Regions from separate parts of the Homo sapiens genome. Here regions 2 and 3 are each linked to region 1. The links are contacts of gene promoters, found by promoter capture Hi-C in human tissues and cell types (Jung and others, 2019). All regions are on one chromosome and are shown on one strand. Each heading gives the region's core, a stretch centred on a gene start or on the middle of the fragment in contact. The rest is flanking DNA. Distances are from core to core; before and after follow the strand shown.

Region 1 (2,881 bases), core at 382-2,881:
ACGCACGCGGCGCCGCCAGTCAGCCCTCCCCTCTACACGCCGCACACCCCGCGGTGCTCACACCCCCCAGCCCCAACCCTGAAAACTCCGCGGAACCAAACAGAGCCAACGCCGCCCAGATAACGGGCTCGGACCACCCCCCTCCCGATTGTCTTTTACCATCAATAGAGAAACACTCGGCTCAGGCGCGCGGTGTCCCGGACGCCCCCTCCGGCCACATCCAGGCACCGGCACGCGGCCCTCCGAGGCCCCAGACCTTCGCCGCAGCCCAAGCCATCGCCCCCCCGCCCGCCCTCCCCCATGACCGGCGCCCGGGACAGTTACCTGCTCGTCGTCCTGATGAACCCGAGCCGGAGCCCACCCCACGGCCTCTCGGGTCACTCGCCACCCAGAGGTGGCTTTTCAGAGCCTGTCAAGTGAACCCCTCTCCGCCGGGCGTATCTATTCCCCAGGCCCGATTGCACCGCAGCGACAGGAATAATAAAAAAAGCCAACAGAACCACAACCGTTGGGAATAACCAAAGGGGAGACCGCAACGGGTCCACCGATTTGGTTTCTTCCTCTGCTCCCATCCCCCGCTCCCCCCGCGGCCCGCGGGCTCACCGGGGACGCAGGGAGGGGGCTGCGCCCTGTCTAGACGACAGCCATCCACAGACATCCCCGAGCCCGCGGGGACGGGCGCGCACACTCACACACGCCCGCTGCCACAGACACAATCAGTCACCGGGGAAGGGAGGGGCGGCGTGGCGACACACTCTCGGGGTCCCTCCCGCAGCCCCGAGTGCCGCAGCCCCCGGCCCCCAAACGCCACCCCGAGACGGGCTCCCTACCTCGGCGGAGCGCGGTCTGAACAGCTGCAAGTTTGGCTGATACTAAACCAACTGCTCGATGCAGCAAATGCGGGCTTCAAAACAAAAGGGAGAGGAATCGCGCTCGCTCTTTTCCTCCTCCCAGGTCGGAACCCGGCACATGACAGCGGCTACACCGCGCAGCTCCAAAGCGAGCCGGGCTCCAGCCGTGCGTCCCCCAAGAGCCCCCCTTGGCGCCGGAGCTCCAGGGCCACGACACCCCGCGGGGCGGGGAACCCGGCAGGGAATGGGACAAACCCAGGGAGGGGGCGACACTGTGGAGTGCAGTTCCCCACCGAGGGGGAGGAGGGGATGGTAGATGGGTGCGGACACCCCGCTGGCCCAGGAGCAGGGATGGGGGGAAGGGGGCTGATTGTTTGGGGCGGTTTTCCCGGATTTATCTATAAGCACGCCCACGTCACGCAGCCCTCCTCCCGGGTCCCCGAATCGATCAGCAAGCTGAGATGACTATAAGAGGAGGACGGGCGAGGAGATGCTCACCTCGGGGTTCCTCTGGCCGCCGCGCCAAGCCCGAGTCGGGGGTGGGGGAAGGGGGCAGGGAAGGGGAAGGGAGGGACGAGGCTCCGGAGAGCCGACTCCTGCCTCGAGTTCGGAGCGTCCCAGCTGCGGAGGGGATCGGGCGCCCCAGCGCACAGACCCAGCAGAGAGGGGAGGGAGGGAGGGAAGGGAAACAGGGAGGGAGGGGCGGGTAGGGGGGAGGGAGTAGAGGAAGGAAAAAAAATGATCCCTGATCTGACACAGGGAAAGAGAATGTAGGAGAGTGACGTTCAGGCCCCGCCCTCCCCTCCGGCCACGTGCAAAGACTTGAAAGGAAAGAGGGCGGCTGGAGGCCTGCTGGGTAATGTAGTTCGCCTTTCTTTTCCAGGATGGCGGGCCCTGGAGAGCAGGGTGGCCCCAGGACGCTCGGGATGTCGCCTTAGCTGCCAAGACAGCCCAGTCTAGCGACGCCAAAACCCGCCGCCCAGCGACCCCACGGCGCTGGCGCAGCCCTGGGTGGGGGCCTCTGCGGTGGGAGAACTGGGGGCTTAGGCGCAGTCCAGGCTTACAGGGAAACGTTGGTTTTAGAGTCCGAAAGGCTTTAAGGATGAGAACGTCCGTGCCGAAAGTGCAAAGTCTGTGCTAATGGCAGATGAAAAGGAGCTTTGTGTATGCACTGGGGGGCCCAAGTGGCGTGATTAATGCTGCACTAAATGCCACCGTCGGTTATTGAGATGCATATGTTATAATTAACATTTGAGCATCTCTGTGTCGGGGGCTGGCTGTTGTAATTAGATACGCACTTTGCAACCAATTAATTTTCCTTCGGCCAAGCTAAGGGCTGGGACGGGGTGGTTGGGAGAATTCAACGTAGTGGATAATTCAGTAATGACTTAACCAGATCACCAATGTTTTGGTTAAAACTGAGCTTGGCACAGAGAGGCCTTCAGGAGAAATACTGAATAAAATACTGTATGCCCCAACAGGGAAGGGGGCTAGAAATTCATTAGAGGAACTGTGTGATGCAGTATAAACTGCTGTAGAAACCCATTTATTCATTAGTTTATATTCACATTTAGTGAGCACTTTCCACAGACCAGGTGTGTCTAGGAATGCCAAAACAGGTAAGACTCACAGTCTCTGCGCTCAAGGAGCTCAGTCCAGTATTAGGGACTACAGTCAATGAAAGTATTATACAAGGGATAAGTCAGCGCTTAACACAAAGTGCTGTGAAATTCCCCCCACCACACAACCTGGAGCAGCCAACTGGATGGAGGGTGGGTGGGGTCTGGGAGAGGGTCAGGAAGACTTCCTGGAGGAAGTGATACTTGAGCAAAGAATTTCTAAGTTTTTTTTTCTTTTTTTTTTTTTTTGGAGACTGAGTCTCTCTTTGTTGCCCTGGCTGGAGTGCAGTGGCGTGATCTTGGCTCACTGCAAGCTCTGCCTCCCTGGTTCATGCCATTCTCCTGCCTCAGCCTCCCAAGTAGCTGGGACTTCAGGCGCCCGCCACCACACCTGGCCAATTTTTTTTTTTT
Region 2 (2,700 bases), core at 171-2,670, 320 kb before region 1:
GATTCCAGCGGGGACCCCCCGCCGGGGCAGAAGTTTCCAATTACCCTAATTGGCTACTGGCAAGCTGTCTGTGGCTCGAATCCTTCTTCTAGAGGGGAGCTGGGTTTGATCTCCCACTAATCCGGGGGTCCTCAACAGTGCTGACTGTGTGATCACATCACGGGCATTTTCATTGGCCAAAGAGACTTCAAAGCAACCGACTTTTGAAAAATAAAACACAATAAACAAAAGAGTGCAAGTGGAACTGCAAACTCCATCTCCCCCGCTGCGCCTGACCCCCTAGGCCTGAGGCTGTGGGGGCTGCAGTGAGGAGGACTTGGAGGTGGGAGGTGGAGCGTCAGCTCTGCCATGGCTGACAAAGGCCGTCAATTACGGGCGGCTGGTGGGGACCGTGCCTGCCTTTGTCCTCCCGGACATCTGCTACACGTCGCCTGCTGCCAGTTGGCGACTGCGGCTGACAGCATGCGGGAACAATGCGAGCCCGTCTCCGACCCACTTTTTCAGCCTTCCGAGGTCCTTTCTGACCCAAGCGGTGCCCCGGCGTGCGAGGCTGCCAAGGTCTCCGAGGAGTCACAGCGATGAGATCCCTCACACAAAGCTCCGTGGGGGATGGGTCTGATGGGGAGGGGAGAGGCGGGAGTGAGGAAGGGGAGGGCCAGGGCCACCAGGAAAAAGAAACATGCTTCCCTTATTGGTGTGAGCTTGCATGCTCGGGCTGGGGGGCTTGTGCGGGGGCACTCCTCTCAGGGATTTGCTCCCTTCCCCGTCTGGCTCCAGACTGGCCACCGACTCTGCCTGCCCTCCTCCCCATTTCTTTCTCCCGCCAGGGCCACCCCTGTCCTCCCGCCTGTCCATCTGGCCCTGTGCACCAGGGCCCCAGCTGCCCGTGGGCCGCCTGCCAGGCCCCCTGGCTGTCAGGCTGTCAGTTTCTGGATGGTTCTGTTGTAGTACTGCGTGATGGGGGGCGTCAGAGGGTTCCAGCTGTTAGCGTGGAGCTCGATGACCTCTAGGAGCAGCGACCGGGTCAGCATGGACTCCGAGGGGCACAGCATCTTGTCCCGTGCGCTGGCCAGGAGCTCTGTCATCATCTCAGGCAGCTGTTCCTCCAGCAGCCGGCCTGTACTCTGCAGCTGCAGACAGAGATGTGGGGTTAGGATGGCCTCGGGTCCCACAGTGGCCCACTGGCCACCCTGATTAGGTGGGCAGGGATAGGAAATAGCTGGGTTGTCTTAAGGACACACAGGCCCAGACCCCTGTGCCACAGCTGGAATGAGGACAGGGAGAGTGGAAGGTGGAGTAGCCAAGAGTGAGAGCTCACATTTACCAACCAATCTGCCAGCAGGATCCAGAGGGATCCGAATATTGCCTACTGCCCAGGGCTGAAAGAGCTGTCACCAGGAACATGCCTCTTGTCCCTTTTACCCAAGAGCCTCCCTCTTCCAGGAAGCCTTCCCTGACTACATCCGCACCCTCAAATGGCTCCATGATCTGTGCCCCTTGGTGATCAGGGGGCCCTGTGGTCATTTTCACTTGCTGGGGCGTCTCTCTGGCAATGAGCTTAGTCATTATTACATGTGTCCATTGGAACTTGAGAGCAGGGGTGATGCCTCCTGTTTCTCTCGCTCTCCTTTTCTCCTGATCCTGATCCCATCTCCCAGCCCCCAGAAGTGACCTCTGCTCATGCTTGTGACAGGAAGTGGGGGAGAGAAATACAAACTGGGGAAGAAGGCCAGCCAGAGGCCGTCAGGAGAGCCCTAGATAATCTTGAAAAGCCCACTGGGAAGGAGCCCCTATTCCTGGACCAGCACACCCCTGGCCAGTGCCCCCCAGGCCCTCTCTATAGAATCTCAGTCCCCGTCTCGGTCCCCAGCCTTGTCCCATTCATTTTTCTAGTCTCTGCCTTCTTCACAAAGCCTCCCTTGAACCCCTGAGCCCTTCCTGACCTCTCTCCCCTGACTCTTCAGGGATGTCTCTGTACTTACACTTATTCTATCTACTCTCTGAGAGCTATTCCTAACCAGACTGGAAGCTGCCTGAGGGCAAGGACCAGGCTTTCTCCTTCTCCCTAATTCCCCCCTAATCCCAAGCCCCCTGTAGGGTGCCCAGCTGGAGGCCAACAAACAAACTGAGTCCCACAGACCCAAGACTGCCATCTGGCTCCCAGTGCTTCTGGCCTCTGAGCTCCTCAGTGAGGCCTTTGCAGCCAGGCGGAAGCCACCTGAGTATGCTTATGACAGCTGCCAGGCCCAGGTCCTCGTCTGGAAGCCCCTCTCCTGCCTGCATCCCACTCTGAGTGACTCTGGACCATCTGCAGAGGGCAGAGATCTGCCCAGGGACTGGGCCAAAGCCAGGCGCTAAAGGGAGAGCCCAGAGGAAGAGTCTCCATTAGCAGGGGCCACAGCTTAGGGACAGGAGTGGCACCTCCCAAGAGGTGTGCTTTCGGGTGGGCTGTGCCAGCACTGCATTGCCAAGCATTAGCAAAGCAAAGGGAAATATTTGAGGGCAGAGGTAATCAGGAACTTCTTAAGTCATTTGTGTGGCATGCCTGAGCTGGGGCGCAGGGGGTCTTTGGGGGACAGGGAAGTAGGCAATGCCACTGGGAATCACTTCTCTCTCCCTTCAGTCAGGGGTGAGCTGCTCTCACCATCAGTGTTCACTCTGGCTTGGGGTGGATAATTCTGGATGCAGAAGTCCATGCCC
Region 3 (3,040 bases), core at 317-2,816, 340 kb before region 1:
GGGGTTTCACTATGTTGGCCAGGCTGGTCTCGAACTCCTGACCTCAGGTGATCCACCCGCCTCGGCCTCCCAAACTATTGGGACCACACGTGTGAGCCACCGTGCCTGGCCCCTGATTTTATTTTTTATCAGATTTTCTCATTGTGCTTCATTGCTCAATATTTTATACTGACCTGTTTTCCAGTTCACTAATCTTCTATTAGTGACATCTAATCTGCTGTTAAACCCATTCATTGCTTGTTAATTATGATGATGATTATTTTTTGTAGTATTTTGTATTTGCCTAGAACTTCCATTTGATAACCTTTAGGAGTTTCCAGTTCTCCTTAAATTATTTATCTCTCCAATTTTTTTGAACATATCAATCACAATTATTTTAAAGTCTGCTATTTTAAATAATAATATCTGGATCTCCTTCAGGTTTATTCCTATTAGCTGTGTTTTTTTTCCACCTCTTAGTTTCAGTCATATGATCTTATCTCCTGTCATGCCTGGTAAATGTTATTGACTTCCAGACATGGTATATGGAAGGATTGTAGAGATAATTTGAGGCTCTGAATAATCCAGAGAGGATTTACTCTTGACTCTGGAAGGGAGATAGAGTAGAGGCAGCGCACTTTAATCCCATGTGGGATTAAGTTTGTTTGAAGCTGCACTTCAACCTTTGTGAGGGCTGACCTATTTCTGATTTGTGCTTCAAGGGTCCTAACTGACAGTTTTTTTTTTTTCTAAACAAGCCATCTCTCCACTTGGAGATGCTTGAGTTCTCCCCTTTCCTCTTTCTCTAACTCCAGGAGGTTGCAAAAACCTCAGTCTCCACTTCCTGCTCACATTCTGAACTTCATGCTACTGCTTAGGGGAAAAGTAGGGCCAAATGTTAAGCTCATCTTTCTAGATTCAAATTTTAAAAATGTATTTTATCTCTTTTTTCGGTTGGTGGCAAAGTTGGTGTGATATATAAGCTAGTCTACTGTAGCCAGAAGTAGAAATTGGCACAGATCTTAAAACCCACCCCTGCTGAGAAGTCATTCCAGTCCCCTGCTTCAACTTGGCCATTCAAAGGGTCAGCTTTGGCCTCCTCCTACTCTGACCACTTGCTCCCCATTCATACAGGGCTTGGCTGCTGCCTAGTGATGTTCATGGCCTGGAGGCTGCCTCTAAAATGGCTACCCTTCCAGCCCCAGCATCCAGGCTGGTCAAGATGGTAGTGGCCTGGTTTTTGCCAAGGCTCTGCCATCACAGAGTGGCCAGGCTCACTTCTGTCTGCTGACCAGCCTCACTCACACGCCATGCCTTCTGTAGCTCCCTCTTGTGCAGGCTCCACGCTCAGTGCTTAACATAAGTGGTCTCATTTCATCCTCATAGAAAGACTAGCAAGTAACTATAGTTATCTTCATTTTATAGATGAGGAAACTGAAGCCCTAGGGGTTTAGTCATAATCCCTGGCCACTTCATAGAATTACATATGTACTTAGGTGTTCAATTAATTTTCTCGTTCACCCTAGACTATAAGCAACATGAAGGCAGAAAATGTGTCTATACATCTATTTTATATCCTCATCATATGGCCATGCCTGGCACAAAGTCTGTAGGCAGTAACAACCACTGAAGCCAGGTGTGGTAGTGCAGCCTGTAATCCCAGCCACTCAGGAGGCTAAGCCGGGAGGATGGCTGAAGCCCAGGAGTTCGAGGCTGTAGTGTGCTGTGGTCACATCTGTGAATAGCCACTGCACTCCAGCCTGGGCAACATCGTGAGATTCCCATCCCAGAAAAACAAAACACAAAAACAAAAACAACCCAACCAAAATCAAAACCAAAAAGAAGCATTGAGTGAATAAATAAAGCTTCAAGTCCCAAAGTTGTTTGTGGTGGAGGCCAGACTCCAGGGAGTCCTGCCTGCTCACCACTCACATCACAGCTGGTGGGGAACACGTTCATTCACCAGAATGTTCCCAGTATCTTCTATGTGTTGAGATTCTAGTGGAGTTTCCTGCTGCCAGGGCTATAATTTTGGCAATTTCAGCGCTTTGGTGTTGGGGGTTCCATTGCCCTTAACCAAGGTCTGAGGACCCATATGGAACTGAGGAATGGACTCAAAAGCTTCTGACATTACAGTAAAAATTTGTAGAGAATTTTTCTAGAGAAAGGATCTATTCAATTTCTCAGACTCTCAGAGAGGTCTGGGACCTCCCCAAAAGGTCAAGAATCTTGGGCATAGGGTTTGGTTGCCTTGTCGGTCTCCCAACATTACCTCGCCTGGCCAGGGAGGGGCTTCCTGAAGCCACCCACAGCTTGTTGGGGGCCGACTGGAGAAACCAGCCAGTGTGTGAAGGGGAAGCCTTTTCCAGCCTGAGCAGGGTACCCAGAGCCCTCCAGCCAGCATTCTCGAAAATCCCTCAAGGTTAGGGGGTGGGTGTCACTCACCGAAGGACCATGAATAATGGAGATCTGGCCCTCTCAGGGCAGCCGCTGACAGGAAAGCCGCCCCACCGGCTCGGCGGCATATTTGTGTGGCTTCTGGTTCTGAGGCAACCGCCAGGTGAGGCAGGGGTGGCGGGGGTGGGTGTGTGGGAATTCCCAGGCCCCGGCTCAGCACTTTGAAGCGAAGACCCTGAGTCCATGTTGGAGGGGGCAGGAAGGCGCCACCAGTCCCTCGAAAGGAGACAGGAGGCTGCCGGGGCAACTTCTCCCTGCTCAGGCTGCCCTGGGTGCCCCCGGCCTGAGGATGAGGAGATTCTTGTTTAGTTTCGGAATCAGCAAGTCCACCTACAAGAACATCCTCTCAGAATCAGAAAGGTCTCTCCGTGTACATATTCTACCCCACACACAAAATCCTTACAATTTTTTTTTTCTTAGACGCACACTCTCAAAAACACGAGCACTCTCTTGTCTCACACACCAAATTCCCTGTCGTGTGCACATTTGTTTTCTCTTTCTCTCACACACAGGCTCACACCCGTTCATGACCAGGTTCGGGGGTGCTCCTGCAGACCTGGAGTCTGACCTTGGCCTCTGCGTCCACCTCAGGGTTCCTGAGGTG

Evidence for each region. The method cuts DNA at HindIII sites, captures the fragments that hold promoters and counts their contacts. A contact is called where the count stands out against the background at its distance.
Region 2: a contact is called between a fragment that was not itself captured here and the fragment with the promoter of CTIF in region 1, in 1 of the 25 tissues and cell types used here (dorsolateral prefrontal cortex).
Region 3: a contact is called between a fragment that was not itself captured here and the fragment with the promoter of CTIF in region 1, in 2 of the 25 tissues and cell types used here (mesendoderm cells and thymus).

Annotation. Positions count from the first base shown.
Region 1 is chr18:48,537,781-48,540,661 of GRCh38, reverse strand. It overlaps CTIF (cap binding complex dependent translation initiation factor), which reads right to left and starts at 1,631. Exons shown (of 12, transcript NM_014772.3): 1 at 1,350-1,631. RefSeq lists silencers at 66-155, 586-945, 1,446-1,525. The HindIII fragment of the contact is 11,515 bases long and covers 1-2,881 here.
Region 2 is chr18:48,857,774-48,860,473 of GRCh38, reverse strand. It overlaps CTIF (cap binding complex dependent translation initiation factor), which reads right to left. Exons shown (of 12, transcript NM_014772.3): 12 at 1-1,130. The coding sequence ends at 915. Among named protein-coding and RNA genes, the nearest start is that of CTIF-AS1, 17 kb to the right of the region's middle. RefSeq lists an enhancer at 2,267-2,700. The HindIII fragment of the contact is 4,424 bases long and covers 1-2,700 here.
Region 3 is chr18:48,878,677-48,881,716 of GRCh38, reverse strand. No RefSeq gene overlaps it. Among named protein-coding and RNA genes, the nearest start is that of CTIF-AS1, 38 kb to the right of the region's middle. The HindIII fragment of the contact is 4,384 bases long and covers 1-3,040 here.